Regions from separate parts of the Homo sapiens genome. Here all the other regions are linked to region 3. The links are contacts of gene promoters, found by promoter capture Hi-C in blood cells and fetal thymus (Javierre and others, 2016). All regions are on one chromosome and are shown on one strand. Each heading gives the region's core, a stretch centred on a gene start or on the middle of the fragment in contact. The rest is flanking DNA. Distances are from core to core; before and after follow the strand shown. Region 1 overlaps NAV2 (neuron navigator 2). Region 2 overlaps NAV2 (neuron navigator 2). Region 3 holds the start of MRGPRX2 (MAS related GPR family member X2).

Region 1 (4,501 bases), core at 1,116-3,615, 750 kb before region 3:
CCTGACTCCAAACTGCTGCAATTCTTCCATCTCCATCTCCCCCATCAAATTCTCACCCTCCAAAATAATCCAACTCTCGGTGCTTACATTTTCATGACACACTCAGGGGAAATAAATCACTGTTTCTTTGGCTGCCCCAGGCAAACAAACCTGGGGAATCATTCCCCCACTTGGCCCACGCTTGGCAAAAGCTGGGCATGAAGCTCTAGGCCAAGGGACTGTGCAAACTTCACTTGAACCAGGCAGTGGCTGCTGAGGCCACACAAGAGCAAAACCTTACATGCTTTCCAACTCCTCCAGTGGGGTTTTGACAATCATCCTCAGAGCTTTTAGTCGCATGGTGCCTCCATGTGCCTCATCTTTTGCTTGACTCTGTTGAAAAGAAAAAACAACAGTGCCTGCCCTTACATTTCTCTAAAAGGCCAGTGCAGGAGAGGAATCTACATGTTTCATCGAAAGGTCTCACTCCTGCAAAGAAGAGTTTGAGCCTTCATTCAACTTTGTAGAGGTTATGAAAAGGCTACCGAGACATTGGCATGGGTGCCGGATTCCAGATTCCAACAAGGGAATGAGTATAGGCTTCAGGTGGAAGGTTATTAGAAGAAGTAAATTTCAGGCCTTGCCTCCTGCCAAGCTCAGAGATAGGGGCCTGGCAACTTCATGATGCAATTTGTGCAAGAGTTGCTTGCTGGACTGAATTCTGGTCTCCTCTTAAGATTGCCTTTTTTCATTGTGGACAGGACTATAGAAAGGCGATGGAAAAACTAAGCAAATCCAGAGTGGCCTGCTATGATCGCAGACAAATCCCACAGCCTGTAACCTTGAAGACAAAACTCTGGTATGCAGTGTTTAAATCAGGTGTTAAGGCCACATCTAGAAACTGCTCCAAGTAGGATGAAATGCAATATCTTTGCTCCACCTTAGGTCTACCTGTTACACTACCAAGGCATCTTAGGTCTTTCCTTCATATGACTCATTACTCTTGTAATTATTTAATTCATTCAGGTATTTATTGAGCACATACTCTGGTACTCTGATAATCTTAGAGGATTCAACAGTGTCTAAGGAAGTGCTCTCATGAGGCTTTATTCTACTGAGGATGAGAGGTAGGAGAGAGAGACAAAATGGTAATAAAAAATAAGCAAACTAATATTAGAGAATAATAAATGCTATGAAGATGCATTAGAGAGTGAATGGCCAGGAGTGGAGGGATAATGTGGTTGGGAAATCAAGAATGGCCTCTCTAAGCAGGTAATATTTGATTAGAGACCCAACTGATAAGAAGAGAGCAACCATGCAAAGGCTCAGGGGGTGGTTCTCCCAGACCAGCAGCATTAGCATGGCCTGGGAACTCATCATAAATGCAGATTATCAGGCCCCACTCCAGGCCTATTGAATCAGAAATTGTGGGGGGTGGCAGCTTAGCCGTGCAATTTGTGCAAGAGTTGCTTGCTGGACTGAATTCTGGTCTGCTCTTGAGATTGCCTTTTTTCAATGTGGACAGGACCATGGAAAGGCGATGGAAAAAATAATCAGCAGACTGGGTTTGAACAAGCATTCTGGTGGTCCTCATGCATACTACAGTCTGGGAACCACTAAGCCATAGGAAGACCATTCCAGGCAAAGGATTCTAAAGACAACGCGTATCTGTTTTGCTCACCACTGCAGTTCTCAGCCACTAGACCAGGGCATAGCACATAGTAGGAATTGAATAAATATTTTTTTTGACTGCTTACCAAGCTTAAGTACCATCCCCCTAGAATCCAGATAAAAATCACAAAAAGATAAAAATCACAAAAGGCTATCTGCATAAAACTTTAGCAAAAGCACGCAAAAAGGAAGAGGAGGCAGTCATTTACAATTCCAGGTGGCCAGTGGAAAGCTTTCTGTCATGCCAGAAACTGCCAGCCACTAAGAGCAACTCTTCCCAATCTAATAAACCTTGGCACCACAAGGTTGGCAATTAGATTTCCTGTAAAAGGCTAAATGTGGTAACCTTCTGCTTCCTGATTTTGAAACTCAGTAAGAAAGGCATTAGTGTGTGGCAGCTGGGATAATCATTTAATTGATCTTTTCCACCCATAGAAGCCTCCCTTCCCTGCTCCAACCCACTGACTTGTAAATCAATGTCACCTTCATTGTGAGCATGAAAAGGCAGGAAAAAACACCCCCCTTCCCAAACCAAATGGGAGTCAATTTCCTAATGAGGCCTGGGTGACACTCTAAATGGGTGCTGCCATTTCTCCCCCTCTGACCTCCTCCTTGGCCACCCACACAGCTCCATCCAGTCCAGTAGGAGAGCCCATGACATGCAAAGCAGAAGACAAGAGGCTTCCTACCAGCAGGAACTCCACAACAGAAAGGGTGTGGATTCTGATGTCAGCCGGACCTGATTCAAATCCCTGAACTGGATAATATTTAGAAAGCAACTAGACAGCCGTTTAGCATGTAGGAAGAGTTCGATAAATCACACACATTTTTCTCTTCCTCCTCAGTGTTGCTGTGTGTCATTCCACCCATTCATTCAACAAATATTTAATAAATACCTACAATGCACCCTTTCTGAGGACAGAATGATGAGCAAAACTGACACAGAGCCTATTGTCTTGAGGGAGTTGACAGATATTAATCAAATAAGGATGTCAAATAAAGATATTATAAAAAGATGCCAAAGGGAAACGGTGACAAAAGGTACAAAGGAGAAATATATGGCATTGTGACAGCCTATATTGGGAGAGTTCAATCTGTGTAGAGCTTATTAAAATACAGATGCCAAAATCCCAGGTGGGCATCTACCTCAACCTCAGGCCATAAGGCCCAGGCCCAGGTGTGTTTATTAACAAGCTTCACAGGATGTTCTCACTGTTGGAGTGAAAGCTTACAGATGAACAAAGATGGAAGGCTAGGATGAGCCATGTGGTAATGGATTAGAATTGAAGACTCTATAGAAACTAAAAACTGCTTTCAGTTTATAAACTATAGTATAGTTTATCAGTATAAATTACATACTGATCTATATAGCATGTCAGCGTAAAGGAATCTAGATAGGATATTCGTAGATACGTGTACATATCCTTGTTCTTTCAGCTGAAAAGTTCTAAAAATAACAACAGCCCAGTAGCAACAAGCAGATCTAGCCCCTGATCTTGGTTTCAATAGCATTCTCCAACCAAAAGAACCAGGGATCCTTGGAGAAATGATTCTTGGACTGGGGCAGGAAGAATTTAAAATAAGCCTGGAGCACAGTATAGTGCCAAAATGTAGGCATATATCCCCACTCCAAAACACAATGATGGAGTATGTCAAAGTGACACAGGAGCCAACTGAAAGAGCTCCCAATGGCCAAAGCTGACCAAGCTCAAAATAATTTGAGCAACAAAATAAGGTAGTATTGGATTATAAGTCAAAGTGTGAAATAATTGATACTGCCACAAAGAAATGATTGACTAAATAAATAGAAGAGAAAAATCTTCCATGTAAATAGAATTTCAAATAAAGTATGTAGATGTTCTGCTCTCAAGGTTAAGTGTGGGCTGCACAAAGAGTAAAACATGGAAAAAAGGGAAAGAGTAACTTTACAGTGAAGATACCGGCCAAACACTATCTCAGCCAGGTGATCGAGGTTAACATAAACATTAGCAAGTCATGTTGATAGCATGACCCTGATAGGATGGGATGAAAAATGTCACTTTACCTCTGTGTTCTTCCTCTCCAAAACCTACAACTTCAGTCTAATTAGGGGAAAAGCATCAGACAAATCCCAATTGGGGGGCAATAGCGATGATGTCCATTCTACAAAATATCTAACTATAACTTTTCAAAACCATTAGAAGCATCAAAAACAAGGCAAGTCTGAGAAGCTGTCAAGCCCAGAGAAGTCTAAGGATGCATGAGAGCTAAATGAAATGTAGTATCCTGGATGGGATCCTGAAACAGATAAAGGTCATTAGGTAAAAACTAAGGAAATCAGAATAGAGTATGGACTTTAGTTGATAATATTTCAGTGTGGGTTCATGGGTTCACTAACTAATATGTGAATATTAGTTGTTAATAATGGGTGGGGTATATGGCAACTTTCTGTACTATCAAATTTTCTGTAAAATTAAATCTAGTCTTAAAGTTTATTTTTTAAAAAAGAACAATTACAAAGCTCCATAGTTGACTATGGTGTGCAACCAGGTTTGAAAACCCAATTCTTAATCCTCCATGGATAACATGTGGATTTAGCCATTTCAAGGGCAGAATGCTAGCCTGATGTTTGATTTGAGATCAGAAAATTTCAGAAACTCTCATGTGTGTGTAAACACACAAACAACATACATGGGTATGTGAATATAAAGTTTATACCCTAGTTATTATGCACAAGAAATTCTTCCTGCATGCATGAATTTCCTAGAATACTCATTAGTAACTGTTCAGGATAAAAGGACTTAACAAAAAAGAAGCCATTCAAAACTCCAGGTTTTGCTTTGATCCATTCAAAAGGGCCATGAAAGAACTA
Region 2 (4,911 bases), core at 494-2,993, 710 kb before region 3:
TAACTTAGACTGAATGACTACAAGAGGCCCTTCTATGTACATCTCTACACACATTTCTGAAGAATGAAACAGAGGCAGCAATATTTGCTGTCTCAAGGGAAGGGGCACAGGCTAGGACAACATATCAGAAATGAGAGAGCATGTGTCATTTGAAAAAGCATATTCTGTATTAAAATATATTTATATATTTGGAAAACAAATCCTAAAATAATTTTTCCAAAAATAAAGCTTGACAAATCTTATTGGCTAAGAGAGCAAAACACAAGATATCTCTATCACAGCTTTTTAAAGCCTAAAGTTCCTTGGAGTTGAGTGGCTGGATAAAGAATCCAAAATCCTGATTGTGTGAAAATACTGCAAGATCAGGGATTTATACATTTTCTGGGAAAACATCATTAGGTTCATTATACTTTCTAGGATAGCCACAACATTTACGATCTATACATCTGCAGAAAGTCATTGAATGAGCAACTAGTTTCCAATCTTTGCTGGAAAAAGGTGAAAAAATACCACTCATGGTACAAGGAGAGATGGGAAGGTGTGGAGGGAGATACAGAAGGTACCTGCCTCAGCTTTAATTAAAGAGAATAAAGCCTGTGACCTTTCCCTTCAGATCTCACACACCTTAGGTCATAGGTATTCTAGCTCATTTAGCAAACACTCCTTGAGCATCTACCATGATGCACTTACCCAGCTTTGCCGAGGGTGTTGAGAATCAGGGAGGATTCCTTGTCTGGGGTATGTGTCTCTCTCTGTGTGTATGTGTGTGTCCCTACCATGCACACACACAGTCTAGTAAGAAAATGGACAAATACACCAACAGTTGCAATGTAATGCAACAGGTGCTACAAAAGAGGCCTGTATAGTGTACAGCTGGGTCATAAAGAAAAAAGCTGGCTGAGCGCGGTAGCTCACACCTGTAATCCTAGCACTTTGGGAGGCCAAGGTGTGAGGATTGCTTGAGTCTAGGATTTCAAGACCAGACTGAACAACATAGTGAGACCTTGTCTCTACATAAAATTTTAAAAATTAGCCAGGTGTGATTGTGCATGCCTTAGTCCCAGCTACTTGGAAGGCTAAGGTGGGAGGATCATTTGTGCCCAGGAGTTCAAGGCTGCAATGAGCTATGATGGTTCCACTGTACTCCAGCCTGGGCAACAGAGTAAGACCTCCACAAACTCTGCAAAAAGAAAAGAACAATGCACAAGGCTGGGGAGCATGGAAGGACTTCACAGAGGTGATGCTGACCTGCTTCTGGCAGGTTTGACAAGAGGAGAGAAGCATCTCAGGAAGGTGGAATAGCATGTGCAAGGGTGTAGAGGGGTGAAAGTTCATGGCAGGTTCTGTGTGTTCACATCACATGGGGTTATTTGGTAGGCTGGGACAAGCAAGATTGCTGTAAAGGACACTCTATTCTTAATTCTTATAAATAGGGGAATGATTTGTCCAAGCTCCCATTTTAAGAAGACCTAGTAACAGCAAGAAGATAGCTTTAAAAAGGTAGAGACTGGAGGAAGGGAGACCAATTAGATGTCTGTTGAAATCATGCAGGGGATGGGTATGAGGACCCAAGCAAGAAGAGGTGAGTGGAAGAGATGCCTGATATCACCAGCATGATGGTACAGATGGTTCCAAAGGGTAATGGCTGTGAGTTCACAGGTGTCAGGACCCTGTAGATTTGCAGAGACAGAAGTGGCTTCTCACAACCTCCTCATCCACCAAACCCCTCCTACCACCTTTCTCCTTCCTCCTATTTCCATAATCTTCCACCAAGACCTTTGATGTGAAGTAGCGGAAAGAGATCAGTCTGTGTTGACCACATGGAACAATGCTTATGAAGGTCTGCCCTGAAGTGTGGTCTGGTGCCTTCCAGCTGTTGTCCTCTTTTTTCAGCTCATGGCTTTCTGACCCATCCCCTGGCCCTGACTGCCAGCTTAGCCTATCTCCCTGAGCATGACCATTCTTGAACTCTCATGGTAGCCACGAGGTAGGGTCCCAGTGTTCTGGTACTGTGGAGCCCCTGGTGGGGCTGACCCCTCAGAGTCTGGATCTGCCTTTCACTGAGTGGTGTCCTCTGTTCCAGACCTTTCCCGTCCCACCATACAAGAGACCTGTCCCACATCGTTCAATCACTCAACACTCCCATGTCTGCCTCCCATGCTTCTCTGAATTTTCAGCACCTGCCCAGCTATGGCAGCCACATGATAAATATCTCCTGAATGAAAGTTGGACTGTCCATCTTGCTCATCAAGGTGGAATGAAGAGGGGTTCAGGCCAGGAGGCAGGGTTGAGGCCTGGCATCCCAAAAGGTGCCACTGGTGTTTCCTTGAGCAAGAGCTACTCATCAGTGGACCTTCTTTTCTTCACTAAGAAACTGATGATCTATAAAGTTCCTTCTCACTCCTAAATTCTGCAAGCCCAGCCTCTGTCTGATAAACTAATTTGTGTCCAGCTGTTAATGGCTTAATGTATTTCCCAGATAACATATTTCAGTTTAACAGGGGTCTTCCACTCTTTCAGCCAAAGCAATGACTAATGGGAAAAAGCTCAGACACGGTGGGGGCCGGCCAGGGGAACTTCAGACAAAGTAGGCTCTCTAGACTGCTCCCATGCATGATGTGGGCTGACGCCTCTCCACCCACACATGAGGCAAGGCTGATGGGGGGATGTCAGCTTTTACATGGTCTTAAAATGACAAAAGAAGGATCAGAAGCACTGTGGCACCCCATGGGGAGGAGGGAATGAGCTAGATAGCTTGTCAGAGGGAGCCCATTTTGCCTCCAAATAGCTGGGCTTGAATATAAAAATACCACAGAAGAGCTTCACATTGCCTGCCGCATGAAAACCCTAGCCATAGTAGTGGCTATTTATTGAGCATGGTACTGGACACCTTTCACAGCAATACTGAAAATACCTCATCACAGCAATACTGAAAAGGATCCTTTTTGCTATTTTGCAGAGAAAGGCTCAGAGATGGAGAGTGATTGATCCTCTTCATCTGACTTGAAAGCCACCAAACAGGAGTAAAACTCAGGCCTCCCTGCCTGGTCCCCTATTTCTGCAGTTGTCTGCATTACTGTCATATTACATGCAGGAAATGAAACCCCAGAAATGCCATCTCTAGGATCATGAAGGCAAACTGTGTGCAGACATTTTTGCAAGTAGCTTAAAGACTTAGTCTCTTTCCTTCTCTGGGGGTACCCAGAGACCTTGGAAAGAAAGGAAGAAGATGTATAAAAATTAAAATAAAAAGCTTGTGGAAGTACACAGTTGGTAGGCTTTTCAGAACTTCAGAGTCGAATTTAAGAAAAGCACTAATCCTTCCTAGAGAAGAAAGGACTCCTGTCCACAAGCCAGCGACAAGGAAGGCCTGAGCACAAGAGGTGCCGTCTCCCCTCCACCAGCCTTGGAGGGGAGTAAGCCTCCTACCAAAAGGTCAGCCTTGGAACACTGGGGTCTGCAGGGGGTTGAAGGCTGTTGGAGGTTTTGAAAGTAAGATGTATGGCTTTCAGGAGGGCAAACACAATGTCACACTGACAAGCCTACGAATGAATGAATGAATGAATACGCCCCCAGAAAGGGCTGGGTTGGGCTAGCAAAGGATTTCTCTCCTTCCTCTCTTCCCTTTTCTTTTTTCTTGAGATAAAGAATTATGTAAAGGGATCTCCCCATTGCGCATACTAAATGCCACTGCATTTAGTATGTTCCCTTGACAGGGTTTAATTTGTCACTTCCTGGCTCCCCCGACAACTCAGATACTTTCTTCCTTCTAATGGGGGGGGTCAGATGAGGGTCAAGAATTTCTGGGTAGAGTAGTGTCTCCTATCACCCCTCCCAATGTCCCTGTGGGCTGCCTACTCCTCTGGAGTAGGTCATGTATGGTCACACCTCCATGCCTTTGCTCAGGCTGTTCCCTCAGCATGGAAGGTTTTTCCTTCCATTCTCTACCAATTGATATCACGTTGATCTTTCAAGACTCAGAGCAAAACTAACTGCTGGTGAATTCTCGGATCCTTTCCACTCATCAGAAGTATGTAAATGCTCTTAGTACTTTGTTTCTATCTCCTCTACGGCCTTTAAAACAGTACAACTCCTCTTATAGTAGGAGAGAGGTGCATTTCATTTGTTGTTATGGATGTAAGCAATGACATTAATATTATTACAACTGGATTATAAGTTGCTTAGGAACAGATACTCTATCTTATTCATCTTTGTGTACTCAGAATAGTACTGGGCTTATCATTGGTATAATTAAATAGAATTGACAGATTCAGTGTCAGGGCTATAGGGAATTTAAAGATCATCCCATCCTACTCCCTAATTTTCCAGAAGAATCTGAGTCCCCTAGATAGACCCCTTTCCACTGTACCATCAAAAATGTAATGAATATAAACTGCACTGAAACGGGAAGCCAAAAATACTAGGCATACAGGCATCTTGAGTGAGACCTCACGAAGAAATCAGAAATTCATGATGCCCTCACCAGGCTAAAGATTCACTTGTTTGCTGGGAATCTGGATATGTACTTGACATTTTCTTTTAAGTATTACCAGAAGGAGAGCTTTTGGAGAGTGAAGATTACGTGTCATTTCTCTCTATAGCCCTCAAAACGCTCGAAACATAGAAGGCGTTCAGGGTAAAAAATAAGTTTCAGGATGAATGAATGAATAATTGAAGACTAATTTGAAAGCTCCAGGGTAAGTGGTTTTTTACTTATTCAAGCAGACAAACTGGTCCCAAGCAACCCAGGGCATATATCCCAAGAGCAGACATGCTATTCCCATGAATCCAAGGGTTGCCAGGTGCCTCTGGAATTTATTTGCTCTGTTCAACATCCGGGGCCTGAGGACTCCTTCTCCAGCCCCCTCCCCACCCACCACCTCAATGCAGCAGATAAGGGTTGAAATTGTG
Region 3 (4,809 bases), core at 799-3,298:
TTCTAGAAATTAGTAATATAAAAATTGGATTTAAACTTCAGTGGATAGATTAAACAGATGATTAGACACAATGGAAAGAATCTAGTTAACTGGAAGATACATCTGAAGAAATTACCCAGAAAGCAGCCTCAGAGACAGAGACGAGACATAAGGAAAAGGTTAAAGAAATAAGGATGATAGAAGAAGAGGGCTAACATATGTTGAATTAGACTTCCAGAAAGAGATAATACTAAAAGTGATAATGAGAGCTAATAATTTTATAGTACTTACTATGTGCTCCTATTGTAAATCATTTATATACATTAAATTATTAATCTTCACAGCAAACCTATAGATTAATAATGTTATCCCCATTTTACTGATGAGGAAACAAACATAACAGAGTTACAAAATCTGGCTAAGGTCCCATAGGAGAAATGCCAAGTAGCCTGGTCTTGTGTTCTTCACCGTTATGTTAATATTTAAAGAGATTATAGCATTAAATTGTTTAAAAATGTTAAATGATGATAATTTTAAAATCTAGGAAACTCCACAAATCCCAAACATGATTTGAAAAAGAGTCACCAGATACAATTTGGTGAGAATGTATCATAGCAGAGAAAAATAAAAGCTCTTAGAGGAAAAAAAGGCAGATCACCACAAGCAAATGGCAACCTGACTGATGGCCGCAACAGTAACCCTGGCAGTCAGAACATGGATCTTCAATGTGCTGGAAGAAAGAAACTATCACCCTACAATGCCATGCCTGGAAAAACCATCTTTAGAAGACGAGGGTGAAACAATGACATTTTCAGATAGATAAAAGGAGGCATTTACCATGCAGAGACTCTCACAGAAGGAACTCCTGAAGAATGTGTTTTGAGAAATGGAAGATATGAGATGTAAAATGGGAGGATGAGCAAAAGCATTGGTGATTATGTGGATAAATCTGAATAAACACTGACTATTTAAAACAATAATAAGTGTTTCATTTGTTGGAGGGAAACAGAATCAAAATCAAATAATAGAGCACAGTAGGTTAGACAGTAACAGAAGTTAAAGCTTTCTAAGGTCCTGCTGCTGCTCATGAGGAAAGCAGATTTCTGGGGACAAATGCATGGTTTACCCACTGCACCAAAGTATAATACAAGAAAATGCTGAGTCTCAGAACTCGCCTCAATCAACACATGTTCCCTGTCTGAGGTCACCCAGCTGCTCTGGAATGCAAAGGGGCATGATCTTGTATGGTGTTCATCATTGTGTCTTCATTGCCTGGAACGGTACCTGACATATCATAGGCAAACAATAAACAGTGTTGAATGAATGAATAAATGAGTGAATAATTTCTTCTGATTGTCTTAAATGCTTCATAATTGTTACTTATAACTCAATTTGGCTGCAGCATAGGCACATGAAAGGAAGTCATAGGAGATAAGGCTGAAAATATTGGTTGGCTCTAGATGATCTAAAAATAATCTAGCTAATAAATATCATGATGTAGAGGGAGAAACGTGACAGATGGTGCATGTGATGTGCTAAGTCCCCTATATTTTATAAGGAGACTCAATATATCTAGTTGTTAACATCGATAAATCAAAAATAGAAATGTTGTTTTATTACGCAAAGCTTTTTTAAAAAAAAGAATGGAAACTGTATGCAGTGGTTGCTTTTGGGGAATGAGACTTCGAGAGACTTTGCATTTCATTTTATACACCTTAGTGTCATTTGAAATAAACCTGATTTTGAAAGGTCAAGTAAGCCAGGGCCTTGAATGCCAAGCAGAAGAGGGCAGACTATTCTTTAGCTATGAAAGCTCACGTCGCTTGATTGGTCTGCTTCCTGGATGCTCATTGTGGGCAATGAAAGACTTCAGGACGGTGATTCCTTGCAGGGAGTGGGGCCGGAGAGGGTAGGGGAGAAACCAAGATAAGTGATTGGAGTCAGGGCAAATGCTGAGAAACATCTCATGTGGTTTCCTGTGTCATACTCTTATTTTCCAGCACCCTCTGTACAGGAAATCACAGGGTTGTTGAGCATCTTGATAAGCTTCACTCAGTCATCAGGTTTCACTCCAGATCCTGCAGGCATCTCCCCATCCTCAGCTGTTTGCCAGTCCCAGGAAAGCACTTCTCAACTCACCAACTCCAGTAGAAAGAAGGGTGTTAAGGTAAGAGTTTGTTCAAGAACCATCTTCTTTCAAAGGCAGTTTTGGTTTTTACCTTAGTCCACATCCTGATGAATTCATTAGGAAAAGAAGACAGGAAGCTCCTTTGAGGAAGCTTTGGATGCTGGCAGCTTAGATGCTGGGAGATCCGAATGGGGTCAAGCAGGTTCGTCCCACTTCTCTTCTATCTACCAATATTCTCCCCTTCTCTTCGACCATTCAAATCTGAAACTATGGAGAGAAAGATTTTGCTGATTTTAATTTAGGGGCAGGCTAGAATGAAGTCATTACTTCCCTAAGCTAAATTGTTATTTAAAACCTCAGGTTGCACTGATTTTCTTGTTATTCAAAAGGTTTTTCCTTCATATCTGTCATTGTCCCAGCAGAAAACACACATCACACACTCTAAAGGGGTAGTTTAGAGGAGTTTAGTGAAGAGACTGTTTACAACGGCGTGAACAGGGATTAAGGAATGATGAAGCCCTCAAAGGCAAGTGATAGTGGAGGGCTGTTACCGTTGCTAGGTCTGAAGTGATAAGGAGAAAGAGAAGTTCTGAGAACTCAGAATGTGCTGTAGCGGTAACTGTAACTGTAACTATAGCTGTGGCTACAGGAAAGGGCCACCAGGCAGGGCTATGTCCTTAGGTAGAAAAACACTGCCACTGCCAACTCACAGCCCTTCAGGGCGCAGGGAGAGAGCCAGGAAATTTTTAAAAAATCATCCCCCAATCTACTGTCAATGTGTCCCTTTGGCTGAAAAAAAAAGTCACCCTCCAATCTCCTGTCAATGTGTACCCTTTGGAGCCTGAGTGAAAGACAGCCCATTGACGAGGCACAGACATGTCTCCTCCCAGGATGCAAAGGCAGGTAGAGAAGGATGGACATGAGATCCTAATAGCAAATAGGAAAGTCCATTTCTTCCCATAGCCTCTTCTCAGTTTGTCTTTCCTGAGACTTTCTCTATTAATGTGATTGAATCAATTTCTCATTCTATCACCTCCCTTTTTTTTAATTGTTTGACCTTCCCATCTAGTGTCACTTCTTTGGACTAGTCTCTCACTATCATCATAAATGCCTTGAGAATGGAATGTGGTTGGGAAAAAAAGGGATTGGGAGTACATAGGTACTCCCAGCTATAAGTACACAGGTATGTGTAATGTAAGTTTATGATTTTGGCTTCTCTAAAAAGAAACCTATTATAGTGATAATCAAAAAGAATGTTTACTAGACTTGGGCTGATAACTCTAAGACATCAAACATCAAGGCTCCTTCCAATTTCTATTTCCCCATCCCTAAAGCGGTACCCTTACCCTCATGGTCCTACATGGCTCCCAAACACATCAGCATTCCAGCCAGAGAGAAGAGAAAAAAAGAAAGAGTACAGGAGTAGCTGGTTATATCACTTTCTCTCACCTCCCCTTGACCATCACATATGGTTACATGGTGCCATTAGCATAAAGGGAAGCTGAGAAATGGGCCTTTTTCTGATCTAAGACTCAGAATTATTATGTGTGAGAAAAGGAGAATGGCTTTTGGGGCAACAAGCAGTCTCTATAGCCCGATTCTCTTTTAGCATCTGTGCTCACCTGGAGATTTTTCTCAACACTGCCTCACAAATAGTGAATGATGTAGACATGGAACAGAAATAAACCTAGGACAGGGCCCCAGGAGACTGGAGCTGGTATTGGACCTGCTTTTCACCATGTGATTCAGGAAACTCTTTTGTACACGTTAAGCCTGTCTTTCTTTGTTAAATGAGCGTATTACAATAGATGGCCTCCAAGGGATATGTGTTGGAGGCTGGGGATATAATAGTGAACAACCACAACAAAAATGTTGAGCTTAATGAGGGAAGTAAAAGAAAAAACAGACATACACTTAAAAATACAGGTGCAGGGCCGGGCACGGTGGCTCACGCCTGTAATCCTGGCACTTTGGGAGGCCGAGGCGGGCAGATCACAAGGTCAGAAGTTCGAGACCATCCTGGCTAACACAGTGAAACCCCGTCTCTACTGAAAAAAAAAATACAAAAAATTAGCCAGTCGTGGTGGTGGGCACCTGTAGTCCCAGCTACTCGGGAGGCTGAGGCAGGAGAATGGCGTGAGCCCAGGAGGCGGAGCTTGCAGTGAGCCGAGATCGAGCCACTGCACTCCAGCCTGGGTGACAGAGCGAGACTCCATCTCAAAAAAAAAAAAAAATACAGGTGCAAACTGTGTTCAGTGCCACGAATAAAAAGGCCAACCTGCCCTGAGGGAGGACAACAGAAGTGGTTTTCTTCCATATCCTCACAAGGCCAACCAGGGCTACAGGAACTAAGACAGCATGTGATGGATGCATTCAGTCCTTGATGCCAATTCTGCACCCCCATGGAGGACACATTCACTTTCCCCTTGGAGGCCTCCAACCCATGAGAGTTTTCTGCAGTGTGGAGTGATTGACGGCTGTTTTTCTGAAGCAAGAAAGAGCTCTTGCATTCAGTTGCTTATTCTCAGTTGGCTTCTATTCATATCTCTTCTCCTTATTTGATTAATCTCTCTTCCTTACTGTTTCTTAAAGTTGCTTAATCTAGGCTTAAAAAACTGCAATTTCGACATTCCATTTTGGATTTGATATGAGCATTACTTGTTGCTTTTCTCCTTTCTTCATGTGTAGTTGGTATTGAACCC

The links. The method cuts DNA at HindIII sites, captures the fragments that hold promoters and counts their contacts. A CHiCAGO score of 5 or more calls a contact.
Region 1: a contact is called between a fragment that was not itself captured here and the fragment with the promoter of MRGPRX2 in region 3, in 1 of 17 cell types (M2 macrophages). The highest score is 6.1, in M2 macrophages.
Region 2: a contact is called between a fragment that was not itself captured here and the fragment with the promoter of MRGPRX2 in region 3, in 1 of 17 cell types (M0 macrophages). The highest score is 5.3, in M0 macrophages.

Annotation. Positions count from the first base shown.
Region 1 is chr11:19,809,063-19,813,563 of GRCh38, reverse strand. All of the region lies in intron 1 of NAV2 (neuron navigator 2), which reads right to left. Among named protein-coding and RNA genes, the nearest start is that of MIR4694, 51 kb to the right of the region's middle. The HindIII fragment of the contact is 962 bases long and covers 1,885-2,846 here.
Region 2 is chr11:19,770,461-19,775,371 of GRCh38, reverse strand. All of the region lies in intron 1 of NAV2 (neuron navigator 2), which reads right to left. Among named protein-coding and RNA genes, the nearest start is that of MIR4694, 13 kb to the right of the region's middle. RefSeq lists enhancers at 2,199-2,707, 2,708-3,215. The HindIII fragment of the contact is 3,025 bases long and covers 231-3,255 here.
Region 3 is chr11:19,057,956-19,062,764 of GRCh38, reverse strand. It overlaps MRGPRX2 (MAS related GPR family member X2), which reads left to right and starts at 2,048. Exons shown (of 2, transcript NM_054030.4): 1 at 2,048-2,146. The HindIII fragment of the contact is 233 bases long and covers 2,028-2,260 here.